2 separate regions of the Homo sapiens genome follow, and region 2 is linked to region 1. The links are contacts of gene promoters, found by promoter capture Hi-C in human tissues and cell types (Jung and others, 2019). All regions are on one chromosome and are shown on one strand. Each heading gives the region's core, a stretch centred on a gene start or on the middle of the fragment in contact. The rest is flanking DNA. Distances are from core to core; before and after follow the strand shown.

Region 1 (4,729 bases), core at 1,041-3,540:
TTCTGAGCGTCTACCAAATTCTTTAAATCAGTGACAGAGTACAATCTAACCAAGAAAAGAAAAAGGAACTAAAAATTCGCAAAGACATGCTTAATATCGCAAATGCCAAGGTGATCTACTTCAATCAGATGTTTGGCAACTAGAGAAGCACAGAACCCCGTTCTCAAACTGAGCTCCATAGGAAGCTGGCTAATAACACAAAGTAAATGGCCATGCATGCCAGGATGAAGGAGGCAGAAAGGCAGGCCTGTGTATAGAGCACTGGGTTTATGACAAGCTAGAATAAAAGCAAAATATTGTTAAATTTCAATTTTTCTATGATTTTTGAAGGATTCACATAATGGCCTACCAAAAAAAAAAAAAAAGGCTGATTTAGAAAGTAATATAGCCCAGGCGCAGTGACTCACTCCTGTAATCCCAGCACCTTTTTTTTTTTTTTTTTTTTTTTTTGAGACGGAGTTTTGCTCTTGTTGCCCAGGCTGGAGTGTAATGGCACTATCTCAGCTCACCACAACCTCGCCTCCCGGGTTCAAGCTAGTCTCCTGCCTCAGCCTTCCGAGTAGCTGGGATTACAGGCATGCGCCACCACGCCTGGCTAATTTTGTATTTTTAGTAGAGATGGGGTTTCACCATGTTGGTTAGGCTGATCTCGAACTCCCGACCTCAGGTGATCTGCCCGCCTCGGCCTCCCAAAGTGCTGGGATTACAGGCGTCAACCACCGCGCCCGGCTGATCCCAGCACTTTTGAGAGGCGGAAGCAGGTAGATCACTTGAGGTCAGGAGGTCGAGACCAGCCTGGCCAACATGGTGAAACCCCATGTCTACTAAAAATACAAAAATTAGCCGGGCGCGATGGCGGGCACCTGTAATCCCAGCTACTCTGGAGGCTGAGGCAGGAGAATCGCTTGAACCTGGGAGGAGGAGGTTGCAGTGAGCTGAAAAGATCGCGCCACTGCACTCCAGGCTGGGTGTCAGAGTGAGACCCTGTCCCCCCTCCAAAAAAAAATTGTGAGCCCAGGTGTAAATGAAGCCCCCCTCCCCAGCACCCTCCTCTACATACCAAGCTTTTCTCCTAGAAAAGATGCACTGGGAAAAAGCTATCTTGAGTAAAGATCAAAACTGATATAAGCCATCCCTCATATACCAATAATATGCCATCAATAAGCGTGAGACATGTGGATGGCTAGGAGAGAGTCTGGTTTCTTCCTGATGCTGCCCACCCAAAACAGAGACTGCAGTTAGGCTCTGACCACACGAGCGCCTGGCATCTCTAGGCAACCTTTTCCATACCAAGCTTAGTTATTCCGGGCAAAATGCAAAAAAAAAACATAAGTAGGAACCTATCATGAAGTGTCCTGGATATTCTTAAATTAAATTTAACCAGATTCTCAAAACATTTCATAACTAACGTCTGCTTTCTTCATTTAATTCTCCAAACATTATAATTTACATTGGTAGAAGAAAGTCCCACTTTACCTGCGGTGAAAAAGGTCGAAATGTCTATCTAGCATGAGATGAAAAACACTACCAGAGAGCAGGGTAGGATTTCACCTCGGCTATTCTCGCTCTAAGTCCAAAACTCCCACATCCTCTCCGCATCCCTCCACCCCGACAGAGTGGCCACAGGGCGTAGAGCGGAGGCTGATACCGCTCAGAGCAGACCGAAGGGAAAAGACGTCTCCCACCGCGCTCATGCCCAACCGGGCTCTCTGGAAAAGGGTCCCGGGGAGCGCGAGGAAAGAAACGAAGGCCGGAAGGAGGCAGAGCGGTCTAAGCAAATAAAAACCCCGGACTTCCACGGCGGCCGGAGCTGGAGGCCTGTGACAGCGGCTCCTCCTCTCAGAGCTTTCCCGGCTTCAGGAGGAGCTGGGGGGCGCCAGCTTCCCGGTGCCTGCGACGCACAGCCCGGCTGGAGCGAGAGCGCAGGGCAGCGGCCCCTCGGGACGAGCTCGCTCGCCTCCCCCGGAAAGGGAGGCTGTGGCCGAGACGGACGGCGGCCTCCAGCTCGGGCGGGGGAGGGCGGCTCGAGGCCTCCGGACCGGGCGCTGAGGTGGCGCACCGGCGCGGGAATGGCCCCAGCCAGCCCCGCCAGGCGATCGCTGAGTCCGTCACTCGTCTGCCCGCGTCCCCGCTTACCTGCTACCCTCGTTCCTGGCAGCTGCCCCGCCGCCGGCCCCGTCGCGGCAGCAGCCTGGACCGCGGACCCCGCCTTCGTCAGCTCCAAGGGAAGCCCCGCCAGCGACGAGGCGTCCGGCCTGTTCGCCGCGGCCACAGCCGCCGAGCTTCCTCTGAAGCGGCTGCCGCGACGCCGGCGCTGGCCTATCGCGTCACCTCCTCCGCGCCCTTCCGCCTGCGAGGCTGGGCCTGGCACCGCCCGCTTCCGGCGCTCCCGCCCCGCCTCCCGACCCGGGGCCGCCCCGCCCCCGCCCGTCACCGCGTCCTTAGCCCCGGCCTCCCTCAGAACGCGCTGGGATGGGAACCGCGTTCAGGAGCTGCTAAGCGCGTTTGAGACTTCAGCCCCTTCTCCAGCTTTTAACCTAAAAGGGCTAAATCAGACCGCAGCTAGTGTACACCCCTACCCTCCGCTGATCCCGTCACCCCTGCGCCGAAAGCAAAAGACCCATTCCAGCTCTGGACGTTGTGAGGCCTGGCCCAGGCGTCCGCTCTCTGGTTTTCCTATTGATCTTACCCCTGGTATTGTGATTGGCCTCTTTATCTATGTCTTACCCGCCCCAACTGTGAATGCTTTCCAAAATTATAAGCCGATGTCCTGACAGGCAAAAACATAATAATAGCAGATTTATGGCGGAAGATGAGTTCAGTTTTGAACATACTCGATCTGGAAGAATAAAGTGGAGGTGACTGCAATGGAAAACCAACAGTGCGTTGCTGAGAGCCTGTGTAGGCAGTAAGGATATGCATTGATGGTGGAGAAGATAAAAACAATACCGAAGCCAACTGCAGGATGGTTTGCTTTTAATTATCATCATGTGTCAGAAAATTCTAAACAATGTTAATGAAAAAGTACTCCTTTCCAAACAAAAGCTTTGTTTAGTCTTAGTTCTAAGCAATGGCTGCAATTACTGTTGATTTTTTTTTCTTTTTTCTTTTCTTTTTTTTTTTTTTCCAAACAGGGTCTTGCTGTCTCGCCCAAGCCGGAGTGCCGTGGCACACCCTAGGCTCGCTGTAACCTCTGCCTCCTGGGCTCAAGCGATCCTCCCACCTCATCTTCCAGGGTACCTGCGACCACAGGCTCCTGCACCACGCCCGGCTAATTTTTTATTACTATTACTATCATTATTTTTGTAGCGATGACATCTCCCTATGTTGCCCAGGCTGGTCTTGAACCCCTGAGCTCAAGTGATCCTCCCACCTGGGCCTCCCACAGTGCTCGAATTACAGGCGTGAACCACCACACCAGGCCCTCTCACTTCTTTTTAACAGTTTCTCTTTGTCAGTGATTTTTTTTTTTTTTTTAGAGGAGTGTCGCTCTGTCGCCCAGGCTGCAGTGCAGTGGCGCCATCTCGGCTCACTGCAAGCTCTGCCTCCCGGGTTCACGCCATTCTCCTGCCTCAGCCTCCTGAGTAGCTGGGACTACAGGCGTCCACCACCACGCTTGGCTAATTTTTTTTGTATTTCTTTAGTAGAGACCGGGTTTCACCAAGTTAGCCAGGATAATCTCGATCTCCTGACCTCGTGATCTGCCCGCCTCAGCCCCCCAAAGTGCTGGGATTACAGGCGTGAGCCACCGCACCCAGCCTGTTAGTGATTTTTAGCCATTTATTTTGTGCCCTATCTTTGTTTTCTTTGTATTTATCTGTCTTGGATATCATTGAGTTTCTCTGATTTGTGGGTAGATGTCTTGCATCAGTTTTGAGAAATTCTCAATCATTATCTCTTCAGATATGGTTTTTGCTGCATTCTCTATGCCTGTTCTCCGAGACACCAATTACATATGTAAGATTATTATTATTATTATTGAGACAGAGTTTCACTCTTTTTGCTCAAGCTGGAGTGCAGTGGCGCAATCTCGTCTCACTGCAACCTCTGCCTCTGCCTCCCGGGTTCAAGCGATAATCCTGCCTCAGCAGTATTATCTACTGAGGTAGATAATACTATTATAATAGTATTATTATCGAGTAGCCAGAATTACAAGCGCCCACCACCACGCCCGGCTAATTTTTGTATTTTTAGTAGAGATAGGGTTTCACCATGTTGGTCAGGCCGGTCTTCAACTCCTGACCTCCGGTGATCCACCTGCCTCAGCCTCCCAAAGTGCTGGGATTACAGGCATGAGCCACGGCACCCAGCCCATATGTAAGATTATTTGATCTTGTTCACCGTGTCTTTTACACTTTGTGATGTCAATTTTTTTTTCAATTATTCAGTTTGAAGGTTTTCTGTTTTTCAGGTTATTGAGTCTATCTTCTATAATCTCCAATCTGCTGTTAAATCTATACATTGAGTTCTTAATTTTAAATATTAGATTTTCAGGTTTTGTTTTTTTTTGTTGTTGTTGTTTGTTTTTTTTTTTTGAGGCCAAGCTTCGCCCTTGTTGCCCAGGCTGGAGTACAATGGCGCAATCTCGGCTCACTGCAACCTCTGCCTCCCAGGTTCAAGTGATTCTGCCTCAGCCTCCCAAGTAGCTGGTATTACAGGTGACCGCCACCACACCCAGCTAATTTTTGTATTTTTAGAAGAGATAGAGTTTCACCATGTTGGCCAGGCT
Region 2 (4,729 bases), core at 1,477-3,976, 360 kb before region 1:
ATATTTACTTAATAAATTCATATTTACATTTGTTTATTATATAAATCTAAACAGGCAGTTTTGAGTAGTGCAAACATTTTGATAACATTAATCTCAGCATCTTTTTTTCCCTCTATTTTGTTATACAGTACTGAGAAAAATCCAATTTAAACAGATTAGTAATTGAAAACTGTTTTAAAGCTTGCCTGATAGCCTTAAATTGTCATTCTAGCAGGTAGAAAGAATAGTAAGGACTTTGGACTTGACTCGCCAAATATCTAACCTTGGCTTGCATTTATTAATTGTTGAAAATGAGCTTTGTAGTCAGACATGATTCCCATTTCTGCTAGCTGTGACACCATGGATAAATTATGTGACTCCTCCAAGCCTTGAGTTTCTCTCATTTATCAAATGGACGTTATAATACTTTTTACCTCGTAAGAGGTAGATCATATTTGGATTAAGTAAGGTAATTACATGTGTTAAAGTATATCCAAATAATCATATTTGGATTAAGTAAGGCGATTACGCTTGTTAAGGTATGATTTTCAAAAAAGCAAAGTTCTTAGGCAAATGTAGAATGAACATGTGTCACAGATTGTATTCCACTCACTTGTTAATGAGAGAAATAGTAAGATGTTAAACTTGACCAGAGTGCATTTGTTATCTAAGTATTTATAGGCAATGTTAATAGAAGATTGCTGAGTTAGATAAGAAACTGATTAATATCCAACGAGGCCAGGAATTTAATCTTTGTGGTTATCTGGGCAAAAATTATTTGCTTCTCTATTGAATAAAAAGCTACAGGTTAACATATATAACTTCACTGTCTAGGACTTTTTTTTTTTTTTTTTTTTTAAGAGACAGGCTGTCACTCTGTCACCCAGGCTGGAGTGCAGTGGCTCAATCATAGCTCAAGCAGTGGCTCAAGGGCTCAAGTGATCTTTCCACCTCAGCCTCCCAAGTATTTATTTATATTTTTTTTAGAGATGGACTCTTGCTGTGTTGACTAGGCTGGTCTCGAACTTCTGGCCTCAAGTAATCCTCCCACTTTGACCTCCTAAAGTGCTGGGATGGGACTTCTAGTAAATAGTGTGTTAAAGTGTGCATTCCCCTAAATTAGAATTTCTCAATTTAGGCATCCTTGATTTTTGGGCTAGATCATTCTTTGTTGTGGAAAGCTGTCCAGTGTGTTGTTATAAAATGTTTAGTAGCATCCCTGGCTTCTACCCACTAGATGCCCGTAGACTCTTTTCCTCGATTGGGCAGCAGACATTGCCAGGTGTCCCTGGGGGCGCAAAGTTGTTCCATGTTGAAAACCATTGCCCTGGATAATCTTGAACAACCTTTGTCTCTATACAGCATTGAACGTACTACCAATTTTTTTGCCTCTTTTTCCAAGCTTTTGATAATTTTTCTGACACATGAAAGCACTTTGCAGAATGCCTGACTAGTAGTAATTATTAAATGACAATTGCTACTGTTAATAATTATTTATTATTATTACTTAAATATTGTTTCTTAGGTAGTTTGATAGGTACTATTTGGCTGAATGTATCTGGGATATTGATTTGTTAGATAACATCATTAAAAAGCAGAACAGCCTAAGACACTTTAGTGCAAATCTATCAGATCCACTCAGAGTTTCAAAATAGTCAAAATTAGTCATTTTTCCTGGTAGGTCCCAAAATCAAATGCATGTTTTTTATACTGTCTTCTGCAGTTTTAGGTATGGTAAATTTTGACCCAAAATGTATACGTTGAACTCATTCATTCAGTTTACTAAAAAAACAGACAAGAAACACTGGTTAATTCCTAGTAATCATTAAAATGATCATAGCACAATATTATCATAGTTGAATATATTACATGTTTATTGTGTAACCAACTGAATAAGGCAGACTGTATTAAGAGCACAGGCTAAGTGGACATGCTTGAACTTTGCCTGACATTTTGTTCTATTAGACATGTGCCAAATAATGTGCTTGCTTATATAGTTTTAGGGGAGCAGACATGTCTGCACAGAACTGAATTTTATTAAGACTCAGCGTGTACAACCTACATGATCAATGAGACAAATCCTCCATGTGCACAAAAATTGGAGAAGTTGTATTTTGAGATTGACACAAAATGAGTTTACTTGGTAGTATGGATAAATAAATTGTTATAGATAAACACCAGTATTAAAACTTGTTACACATTTGTGCTTCCAGGTTTTTAAAATTAAAATTTGTAAATTTGAAAATGAAAGTTTTAAAATGAAAGAACATTGGTGACACCTCTGAGGCACTGCAGTGAAAAAGGCTGAGAACCACAGCTTAACAACTATGGCTCTGACTTAGTAAATGTATTTTTAAATATAAAGGCTTCTAAGGAGCACAGTTTACTTTTTCTTGCCCTAGTTACAGTTGACATTTGACTTTTCATTTAAGTTCCACAAGTCATGTGATTTGCAGTTATTTACCTGTCAGGGTAATTAGATTGGAGAACCAGCTATTTCCTTTACTGTTTTAGAAATGTAACCTAGTTTTTTCTCTCTCTCACCCCTTATACAATTACATAAGTAGGAATGGAACAGAATAGAGAATTGTGTAGGAAATTGGAATTAAAAGTGTTCTTGAGCAGGTTTGGAATTAGAGTTATGGTTGGTGGTAAGGGAATTTTTGTCTTTTGGCACGCTGTTTCTGGTGTATAGCAAAATATAGTATACTTTTCCACAAACAGCTTTGCTTACTAAGCATACAGAGACCAGGCTGTTGAGTACAAATATATGAATTGATAATTTTAGTTTTGTAAAATTGTTCTTGTTTTTGTTTTTTGTTTTTTTGGTTTTTTTTTGAGATGGAGTCTCACTCTGTCGCCCAGGCTGGAGTGCAGTGGCGCAATCTCGGTTCACTGCAACTTCCATCTCCCAGTTTCAAGCTATTCTCCTGCCCCAGTCCCCCAAGTAGCTGGGACTACAGGTGCGTACCACCACGCCTGGCTAATTTTTTTGTGTTTTTACTAGAGACAGGGTTTCACCATGTTGGCCAGGCTGGTCTCGAACTCCTGACCCTCAGATGATCCACCCACCTCGGCCACCTGAAGTGCTGGGATTACAGGCAGTTTTGTAAAAGTTGACAGTCTTCATTAGCAATTATATTTCTTAACTGCAATATAGATGTAGTACTTAGAACAACCCAAATAATAGTGGAAGAAAGAAAAGATAATTACATAGATGAAGCAGTAAATATTCCTTTGTGTGTTATTTAGTATTTTACTGGCATTTGTTAATTCAGCTTTTGAGTTTCAATAAATACTGTCCATTTAAATTATAGCGAAGGTACTGCATAAGATGTAACATCTGTGTGCAAGATTTTAAATATAAAATACTGTAAGAATGACATTTTCACAGTATTTTATTTGTTGCTTTGAATGTAATTAGTTAATGATAGCTTTTCTGCCAAAGGGTTGATTAAAAAGCCAAAGCACAGAAAATAATATTTGAAAGAGTGGATAAATCAGTGATATGTCGGTGAGTTAAACTGCTTGACTTTCTGCTTTTAAACTTTCCATATGGTATAGATATACATCAAAATTGGTTCAGTAATGTTTTTCCAGATTTTAAGTGATTTTGATGTATTAGAAAATACTGAACTTTTTTTACTGTCCAAGTTTAATTTGTAATTATTCTACTTAACTTTGCCAGATGATTGATTTTTGTTGTTGTTGCTTGAATTGTTTATAGAGAGGAATCAAACTACAAAATGTGATAATTGAGGTACTCTTTTTACCATTAAAACTATATTTTAAATCAGACTACAGTGTTTAGTGGTGTAGTAAGAAAGCATCACATATGACAAGCTCTGGGCTCATCTCTTATTGAACCGTGTAATGAATCCCTTGCTGCAACATCTTTGCCCCTCCCCCAAAGCAGCCAGCATATATTTGAGCATAGTGGCTCTGCTCGAGTTGTATCTTATTCTCATGGAGGAGATAGCAGAGCTTGTACTGCAGCAAGTGGAGCTCTGTGGTGAATCCGATGCTGGATTACATTTTAAGGATATTAGCAAGGCCCTGACAAAGTGGTGCTAAATGAGCACTTTCATTCTGGTAATTTGACTATAATTTTAGTGAAGCAGTTTTATTATGCAGGAAAAAGAAACAGCATTTTAATTCCAATCATAGTATACCGACCTGATCTCTGCTGTGGGGGTGGAAACAATGAAGAATGCAACATTTTAATACAATTTTTTTTAAAAAGAATGCTTTGGATCTAGATTAAATGTTCAAGACAGTCAGCAAACAACATGCACAAAGGCATTTTTCTGGAATTTCAGTCTTGGATCGATTTAAATGCTCAGGGTCTGAAAAAATGTCTCCTAGCATCAAAAACTTGGATTGCTTTTCTCCGATGTTATGCCACTGTAAAGTAGCATGCTCCAACAGCACAATATCCTTAATGTTTGGATGTAAGGTGGGTTTGAATAATACTTCCTTAAAAAGCTTGGTTTTAAAATCCAATAGTATTTCAGCAAAGAAATGTAATTTAGGTTAGATGGTTTGATTGACTTTAATTCATGTAATAGATTCCTGTCCTTTGTGTGTCTGACATGAGTAAAGAATTGGTCTGTGCACAGTTAAGATATAGTAGAAAAGGATCTGATTTTTATGAAAGCTGCATGTAAAATGTCATTTTCCATTAATGAGGATTAATTATTGACTTGGTTTTTATGTGTTGCTACTGTGGAGAATTAAGTGTACAGGAAAC

What was found. The method cuts DNA at HindIII sites, captures the fragments that hold promoters and counts their contacts. A contact is called where the count stands out against the background at its distance.
Region 2: a fragment that was not itself captured here is called in contact with the fragment with the promoter of SENP5 in region 1 in 1 of the 25 tissues and cell types used here (spleen).

The regions. Positions count from the first base shown.
Region 1 is chr3:196,865,481-196,870,209 of GRCh38, reverse strand. It overlaps SENP5 (SUMO specific peptidase 5), which reads right to left and starts at 2,290. Exons shown (of 10, transcript NM_152699.5): 1 at 2,137-2,290. RefSeq lists an enhancer at 781-1,282 and a silencer at 1,934-2,513. The HindIII fragment of the contact is 4,194 bases long and covers 1-3,795 here.
Region 2 is chr3:197,225,563-197,230,291 of GRCh38, reverse strand. The region is part of intron 4 of DLG1 (discs large MAGUK scaffold protein 1); the gene reads left to right. Among named protein-coding and RNA genes, the nearest start is that of MIR4797, 66 kb to the left of the region's middle. The HindIII fragment of the contact is 3,890 bases long and covers 782-4,671 here.